3 separate regions of the Homo sapiens genome follow, and all the other regions are linked to region 1. Evidence: promoter capture Hi-C in 16 types of primary human blood cells and fetal thymus (Javierre and others, 2016). All regions are on one chromosome and are shown on one strand. Each heading gives the region's core, a stretch centred on a gene start or on the middle of the fragment in contact. The rest is flanking DNA. Distances are from core to core; before and after follow the strand shown.

Evidence for each region. Contacts are between HindIII fragments. The CHiCAGO score rates a contact against its expected background, and 5 or more counts as called.
Region 2: a contact is called between a fragment that was not itself captured here and the fragment with the promoter of THOC2 in region 1, in 1 of 17 cell types (M1 macrophages). The highest score is 5.5, in M1 macrophages.
Region 3: a fragment that was not itself captured here is called in contact with the fragment with the promoter of THOC2 in region 1 in 1 of 17 cell types (M2 macrophages); the score reaches 6.3 in M2 macrophages.

Annotation. Positions count from the first base shown.
Region 1 is chrX:123,731,581-123,734,470 of GRCh38, forward strand. It overlaps THOC2 (THO complex subunit 2), which reads right to left and starts at 1,472. Exons shown (of 39, transcript NM_001081550.2): 1 at 1,372-1,472. The coding sequence starts at 1,442. RefSeq lists an enhancer at 1,408-1,487. The HindIII fragment of the contact is 10,140 bases long and covers 600-2,890 here.
Region 2 is chrX:123,624,586-123,627,475 of GRCh38, forward strand. THOC2 (THO complex subunit 2) reads right to left here. Exons shown (of 39, transcript NM_001081550.2): 24 at 1,936-2,077; 25 at 1,327-1,484; 26 at 1-84. Among named protein-coding and RNA genes, the nearest start is that of THOC2, 110 kb to the right of the region's middle. The HindIII fragment of the contact is 1,132 bases long and covers 890-2,021 here.
Region 3 is chrX:123,664,417-123,667,306 of GRCh38, forward strand. It overlaps THOC2 (THO complex subunit 2), which reads right to left. Exons shown (of 39, transcript NM_001081550.2): 11 at 2,690-2,862; 12 at 1,226-1,421. Among named protein-coding and RNA genes, the nearest start is that of THOC2, 67 kb to the right of the region's middle. The HindIII fragment of the contact is 4,946 bases long and covers 1-2,890 here.

The DNA of each region.
Region 1 (2,890 bases), core at 222-2,721:
ACAATCCTTTGAGTAGAGTACTTATTATTCCCAATTTACTCAAGGGGAAACAGTCCAAGTGGTTAAGGAACTTACCCAAGGTCACTCAGCTACTTAAGTGGCTAAGACAGCCGCTTATTTAGGGAATTCTAGAGCTCACACTGTTAAGACTTCATACAGCAGTGCGGGGGGTGCGGGGGAGGAAGCCACATAGGCTGGCACTATTACAAGCGCGGGATCCGGCAACGCGTTCCTCGTGTTTCGTTCCAAGTAACGAAGTTACAAAGATTTGAATCTTTAGCATGAGCCACGGTAAACTGGCTACTAGAAATGGAGAGGGGTGGGCAAGGACGACAAAAATGGCTAACGAGGGTTAATTTCATCCAGGGTTGAGCTTTAGCATCTAAAAGCGACCCAGAGAAGGAAATGAGATGTTATTAATATTTGTTCTTATATCTGAGGTTTGCTTTGCTGCTTAAACGACTCCTTCCAGGGGAAGGGGAGGAGGGAGCGCTCTAACGTGGGGGCGAGAAGACTAGGGGTATGGCAAATTACTGTTTTCGGTGTTACGGGGGAAAGTTTCACGACTAAAGGAAACGCGTTATCCTAGGTACTGGAGAAGCTTGGAGAGCTGCCAGAATTAGTTGCAGTCCCAGGATAAAATGGGGTTTAGGGAACATTTAATGACGAAAGTTGAATCCAACCCGAAATAGCTCTAAGGTGAAAAGACGGAGCAAAGAAATGTCGGTGGTTCTTCAGGGAAAGCGGCAATCCCTGCCACACTTCCCCACGGCGCTACGCGAGGCCGGGACAGTCGAGAGACCGCTCCCCGGGAGGGCGAGAGGTGCCAAACCGGGTTCTTCGCGGCGCCCCGGGCTTCGCGGCAGCGGGCGAAGAGGAGGGGAGGGGAATCCGGGACGGTTCGCCCTCCTTGGACTTCAGGCAGAGGAGGCGCCAAGCTCCAAACTGCGGAGTCCAACGGGTGCAGAGTGAAGAAATGGCACAGAGAGAGATGGAAAGTCCGAATTGCCCCGGCTCAGCCCCATAAAGATAAAGGAGCCAAGTGAGATCAAGCGAAGAGGGGGACACAAAAAGAGACCAAGAGGGAGCGCGGAGACCTGCAGGGGCGGAATAAGAGTTCTACTAAGAGGCTAAAGGAAGCCGAGCTACCGCAGGCAGTAGCGATTTCTGGGAGGCCAGGGAAGGAAGGAGGTCCGCGGCGGTAAACAGCACCTCTCCCCGAGTTCGAAACTCCTAGACGACCATCCACGCCCGCCGCCCGGGTGGGGGAGGGGGTACATCTTTCCCCCTCAACCTCCCACTACAGGTGAGAGTGCAGCTGACGCCCTGGCCCGGCCCGGCAGTGCGCCTGCCTCCGGCCCGAACACTCACAATTCGCCTCTCCCTGATTTCTCCCAGTTCTTTATCCACTCTGCGGGAACCACCACAGCCGCGGCCGCCATCTTCCTCTCACTAGTAGCAGAAGCCCGGATGTGTAGCACGCGAGCGAAGGGTCAAAGGGGAGCACCGCCCACGAGGAATGCCGGGAGCTGAGAGTTCGTTTTTCGATTTCCCGCCCCACTTTCCTCTCCACCCAGCGGAAACCCGAGGCAAGGCAGCCAACGACGTGGAGACTCGCGGGCCCCTTTGCGAGGTTACTACACGGGTTGCGCCCTCCGAAGTCTTCGGCCTTACTTCCCATTAGAACAGAGAAATGCCATCCACAGGCCAACAAGTAGACTTCATCTTCTTCCGTAATATCTACCCCTAACCACTAATACAAACACGCATTTTTCAAGCACCTAATATGTGCTAGACACTGGGAATAGAGAAATAATAGTCTTTGGGAAAGCCATAAATATAAGCAAATAAATTACATTACGCCCTGCTGACTGCTGAGATAAAAGAAAATAATCGGGTCCCTCTCCTTCTCCCTCTCCCTCTCCCGTCTCCCTCTCCCGTCTCCCTCTCCCCACGGTCTCCCTCTCCCTCTCTTTCCACAGTCTCCCTCTGATGCCGAGCCAAAGCTGGACTGTACTGCCATCTCGGCTCACTGCAACCTCCCTGCCTGATTCTCCTGCCTCAGCCTGCCGAGTGCCTGCGATTGCAGGTGCGCGCCGCCACGCCTGACTGTTTTTCGTATTTTTTTGGTGGAGACGGGGTTTCGCTGTGTTGGCCGGGCTGGTCTCCAGCTCCTAACCGCGAGTGATCCGCCAGCCTCGGCCTCCCGAGGTGCCGGGATTGCAGACGGAGTCTCGTTCACTCAGTGCTCAATGGTGCCCAGGCTGGGGTGCAGTGGCGTGATCTCGGCTCGCTGCAACCTCCACCTCCCAGCCGCCTGCCTTGGCCTCCCAAAGTGCCGAGATTGCAGCCTTTGCCCGGCCGCCACCCCGTCTGGGAAGTGAGGAGCCTCTCTGCCTGGCCGCCCATCGTCTGGGATGTGAGGAGCCCCTCTGCCTGGCTGCCCAGTCTGGAAAGTGAGGAGCGTCTCTGCCCGGCCGCCATCCTGTCTAGGAAGTGAGGAGCGTCTCTGCCCGGCTGCCCATCGTCTGGGATGAAGTGAGGAGCGTCTCTGCCTGGCCGCCCATCGTCTGAGATGTGGGGAGTGCCTCTGCCCCGCCGCCCCGTCTGGGATGTGAGGAGCGCCTCTGCCCGGCCGCGACCCCGTCTGGGAGGTGAAGAGCGTCTCTGCCCGGCCGCCCCGTCTGAGAAGTGAGGAGACCCTCCGCCCGGCAGCCGCCCCGTCTGAGAGGTGAAGAGCGTCTCCGCCCGGCCGGCCGCCCCGTCCGGGAGGGAGGTGGGGGGGTCGGCCCCCCGCCCGGCCGGCCGCCCCGTCCGGGAGGTGACGGGCGCCTCTGCCCGGCCGCCGCTACTGGGAAGTGAGGAGCCCCTCTGCCCGGCCACCACCCGG
Region 2 (2,890 bases), core at 206-2,705, 110 kb before region 1:
TAACATGCAGCAAAGAAACCTTCCGTATCGACTGGCTTCATTTTCAGTACAGCTTGCAACTGTGTAAATTATGTCAGAGAAAACCTACAGGAGAAAAATGTTTAAAAAATATAAACAAATCAAGGTCAAAATCAGTTAAAAATATTAGAAGATTCTCTTACAGCAAGTCATAATAAACAGGTAAGCCTAGTCAAAATGTATATTCCCTTTATATAATGACACTGCAGAGAACTTTGGAGATTTTGGCTTTTGTGGGGAAATAATGCATTCATAAAACAACCACCCAAAACAAGAACTTTTATAAAGAAAGCTGATTTACAGTGACAAGGAAAAAAAAATTTATCATTATTATTACATAATAAGTTGTTTTTTTTTTATTACATAATAGTTTCTTAACCACTTAGCCATACATATTACTGGGTTTACGGGGAGAGTAAGCAGAGGAAATGCTGATAGAAATTAAAAATATGCAGCTGACATACTGGAACATACATTATGTTTTTTGTTTTGTTTTGTTTTGTTTTGAGACTGAGTCTTACTCTGTCACCCAGGCTGGAGGGCCGTGGTGTGATCTAGGCTCACTGCAAGCTCCGCGTCTCAGGTTCACACCATTCTCCTGCCTCAGCCTCCTGAGTAGCTGGGACTACAGGCACCCACCACCACACCCGGCTAATTTTTTTGTATTTTTTTTTTTAGTAGAGACGGGGTTTCACCATGTTAGCCAGGATGGTCTCGATCTCCTGACCTTGTGATCCACCCGCCTCGGCCTCCCGAAGTACTGGGATTACAGGCATGAGCCACCGCACCCGGCCACATTATGTTTTTAAACCACAAAATGTAGTAATAAGAAAAAAGCTAAATGCAAAATGTGCATATGACCATACTGAAAAGCTTCCCTGCTTTTATATGTGTGTGAAGGTGTAAACTTTTTTGTCTTTTTTTTTTTTTTTGAGAAGTGAAGGTTAAGAATGGAGAAGAGAGTTCTACCTATTATGATACAACACGTAAACTCAAATACTTAGTTAATAGTTTAACCTTGAGTGCCTATTACATATCAGGTACTTTTTATGTGTAGTGATTCATTTAATCCTCACAACAATCTTATGAAGCAGGTACTTATGCTTTACAGATAAGAAAACAGGCACAGAGAGGTTAAATAACTTGCCAAAGATCATACAGCTAGAAAGTAGTAGAGCTAGGATTCAAGTTCAGACACTTGGTTCTTGAGTTCATGCTTTTTAACTAAACACACAATAATACCTCTATAAATTATAATGTTAGCTATCTTTGTGTGAGAACTTTTTAAAGGTTGCAATAAAAACTTACTCGATCATAGCAAAGAAGTGTGGAAAAATTTGGAGTTTTCTGTTGATGTACCAATTCAACAAAACGAGCACAGTAAACAGCATCAATTGCTGAAAAAATACATCGAGGAAATATACACAGCTGTAGAAATTTTGTGATGGTCTCATTTTTGGTAGATTCTAAAAATAAAGGAAGAATATATTAAGTGGTAAACTTCTTCCCCAAGTGCCTCAAAGCCACTAAACATGACAACATATTACCTTTAGTGAAGAGAATACTATAAACCACAAACTATTTATAGTTTGTAACCAAATGTCATGCCTGGTCATGATTATCATTTTTACTATGTGGACCTTTTTTTCTATGATTTCTCCAGAAATATGTTTTATACAGAAAAGCTGAATGACAAGCTGCCAATATGTAGTTAAAAGTTAATTAACTTCACCAGCAAACTATATCAGTTCCTCCAGTGAACATGAAGTTGATTCTGCATTAACAAATAACCAAAGAATGGGATAGGGAACACTGAGTTGAAATACAAACATAATACACTTTAACACCTCTAAAGTTATAATGTTTTGTTTTCTGTAATTTACCAGCATCAGGAACCTAACAATTCCAACAACTTACTTGCTAAAAGCCAGTTGTCCTTTTCCAGTTTCAATCTCTGTAGAACTCTCTGTACATGTTCCATCTGTTTCTTTTCTTCTTCAAGAAGCTTGTCCTGAAGGGCAGTACAGCGCTCCTTCTCTTTTTTCTTTTTATTTGGGGGCTACAAAGAATTCAATTAGACACTTTTCTAACTATATGCACATTACCTTTCTTCTTTTAATTGAAAAGTTTAAAGAGATAAAGGCTGATAGTTTATAACTACTTTAACATGAATATAGGTCCACTTGAACGTGCTACTTTTATCTCCATTCAACACACTCATAACACTGTCATGGCATCTTCATACACCATCAGAACAGGCTACATTTGCAACACTGACACTATTAGTCTCAGGCATGGTGTCATCTTTGACTCTTCCCTCTCCTTTATATCAAGACTGGTTTACAAGCCTTGTACACTGCCACTACCTCCATCAGTCTATGCTCTCACAATAGACTGCCCAAAAAGCCACCTAGCTGGTCTTTAGCCTAATGCTAGTCAAAAAGCATCTTTCATACTGCTGTCATGAGTAATCTTTTTTAAGTACCATTTTTTACATTACTATCCTGCTCAGGAATCTAAAATAGCTCTCAATTTTACCAAGTCTACTTTTCTCCCTGACTTCCAATGCCTACATAATCTGGCCCCATCATAACTATTCATATGAATCACTAAGTACATTCACTACATGAAAGTGAATCAGTAAAAGTGGTCTCCCTAAACCTCAATCTACTTCCTGTCTTTGCTGGAACCCTATGGTGACCTCCCTATCTGCTTCCATATTTCCAAACCTAATCTACCTTCAAGGCCTGTCCATTTCAAGACTCGGCTTCTCAATAGTCTTCTCCTAAAGAACTCTCCTCTTGAGAACTACTGCTCTTGCTATTAGAGTCACATGAATCACTTTAAGTTACTAGCATAGTCGTCAGTAGAA
Region 3 (2,890 bases), core at 99-2,598, 67 kb before region 1:
CAACCTACAGAATGGTAGAAAATTTTTGCAATCTACTCATCTGACAAAGGGCTAATATCCAGAATCTACAAAGAACTCAAACAAATTTAGAAGAAAAAACAAACAACCCCATCAACAAGTGGGCGAAGGATATGAACAGACACTTCTCAAAAGAAGACATTTATGCAGCCAACAGACACATGAAAAAATGCTCAACACTGGCCATCAGAGAAACGCAAATCAAAACCACAATGAGATACCATCTCACACCAGTTAGAATGGCGATCATTAAAAAGTCAGAAAACAACAGGTGCTGGAGAGGAGGTGGAGAAATAGGAACACTTTCACACTGTTGGTGGGACTGTAAACTATTTGAGTTGGGTAGTGGACATATGGGTGCTTAGTTTAGGGAAAGTCACTGAGCTGTATTTTTCCGTATGTATGTTTTATTTCAATAAAAATCTTAGTAAAAGAATAAATAAATAAAAGAATGGGTCCTTAACAGTCTGAGGCTGAAAAGACTTCTTACACATAGCAGCAATGATTGAAAACTACACTCAAGAAAATGACTAGAAGGAAAAGAATGCTAAGTAACCACTAATCATAAGGGAATTAAAAAAGCAGCCACTTGTCTGAAGTATATTTTCCCATGTGAGGGACTTGACTAATAATCTCGCTAGATTTGGGTTTATATTAATATATACAGTTATGCACCATTTAACAATGTTTCGGTTGATGGACCACATATATGACCAGGGTCATATAACATTATATTAGAGCTAAAAAATTCCTATTGCCTAGTGATATCATGGCTGTCCTAACATCTTAGTGCAAGGTATTACCTTTTAAATGTTTAGATATGTTCAGATACACAAATATTTAACAGTGTATTACAACTCCCCACAGTATTCAGTACGGGAACATTCTGTACAGGTTTGTAGCCTAGGAGTAACGGGCCATACCATATAGTCTAGGTATGTAGTAGGTCATACCATCTAGGCTTGTATAAGTACACTCTCTGATGTTTGCACAATGACGAATCACCTAATGATGCATTTCTCACCTGTCATTAAGCAACACTTGACTGCATATGGTTAGGACACACTGGAATTTTCCACAAACCTCACTCAACATAACCCTTTATTAAATGAGGTTCATATTTTTATTTCTAAAGATACTCATAACACAAGTATACTCAGAATATTTTCATTTCAAAATTTAGGTTTGTAAGAAAAATCTTACTTACCTCCTTCATAAATGACTTGCCTATGCGCACCACTTTTGCAAATAAAATGGGATCGTGAGAAAGGTGAGGACCAAGGTAACAGAACATATTGAACACGTCTCTCCTCAAATCTTCAAAGCTCTCAGCTTGTTTTGGTGCTCTCTTGTTTTGCAAAGCATTAACAGGTGAGCCTTTAGCACCTTTAGGAACTCCAACTCTATTTTAAAAAGTAAAATAAATAAATAAACAAATAAATAAGTATATAATAAATATAACTATATACACACACACTACAATATCTACCATTTTAACAAAGTTATCTTAATCAGTGAAATTTTTTCTTGCTCATATTTGCTTTCTACATTTCAATTGTGCCTAACTTTATTACACCAGATAATTCTCAACTGGTAGAAACACATAAAAACAACAGTCATTAGAAAAAAAAAATCAGAGCTCAGAGGAGAATGTTCCAAATTAACTGCTTAATCAGAGAAGTGTGGATTTCAAGGAACATTTAACACACACCATCTGAATCTGTTTTTAAACTTGGCCGGTATCGGGAACTTGGATATGGGAATGGGCAACAAGGGATGGACCTAAGATGCACTGGAAGATGAAACAGAAAAATATGGATATAACAACACTGATTCAAGTCAACTGACATTTCTCAATCTGGATTCCACAACCTAGGGTATGTAGAATGTGGTCGTAGGGAAAGTGAGCCATGTAATAAAAGAAGGTCACTTTAGGACACCATACCCAGAGTTCTCACCTGCTCAGCAGGTGCCCCACTGTGGAGTCACAGGGGTCACTCTCTAAGAAGCCTGCATGGTCCACGGCCCATGAAGTGACACTGACGGCAGCAACCAGCAGCTACACAAAAGTCACAAGGCTGAGGCTTTTGAGGCAGGCTCTGATCTATGGGGCTGTAGCCACAGCTGCTATCAATACTGCTCCTAAGTATCCTGCAAGTAGGCAGAAAGCTAAAGGACTAGATGACATAGTAACTGGGGATGATAAGAGAGGCTAAACTACTAATTTCCAGAACAGCAGCCTATATGCCAGGAAAGGTAAGGGAATCAGAGAGGCAATGTCCTCACTCAGAGCCACTCAGCCAGGATGGAGAAAAATTACACTAAGAAAAAACCTCAGGAATTCTTTGCCCCTCCCACCCACTGAAAGGAGGGAAAGTCAAAACCAGAAGAATGGAGTTTCAACTCTCAATGGAACAAACCCAACCTAGAAGTCTAACTTGTAGTTTTCAGACTACACTGCAGCACACATTCTAGAACCCCTGGTCTAGACGTTAGAAGACAAGTCACTGATTAATATATATCAGACTGATACACTCTGTGAATAGTTCTTATCTTTTGATAAAAGGTACTAAAATATATGCTTGGTTTGAGGAGATAAGATAAATATACATTTTGTTGTAGTCCTAAGCTATTTCTACCTCAATGATTAATAAAGTATAAAGTTACATACCTTCGGTAGAGAGGCTCAATAGTTATATGAATGAGCTTGCAAATAGCAAGGGCTATTAGCTTGTGTGAAGCTGCATAGTATGGAGGCATCTGATCCATAATGTTCTGTGCATGTTGCCAATCACCAATCTTTAATAAGGCTTCCAACAAGCCAAGTTTTTGGTTATCAGGTGGCTAAAAATGAATAGTCAAAACTAAGATA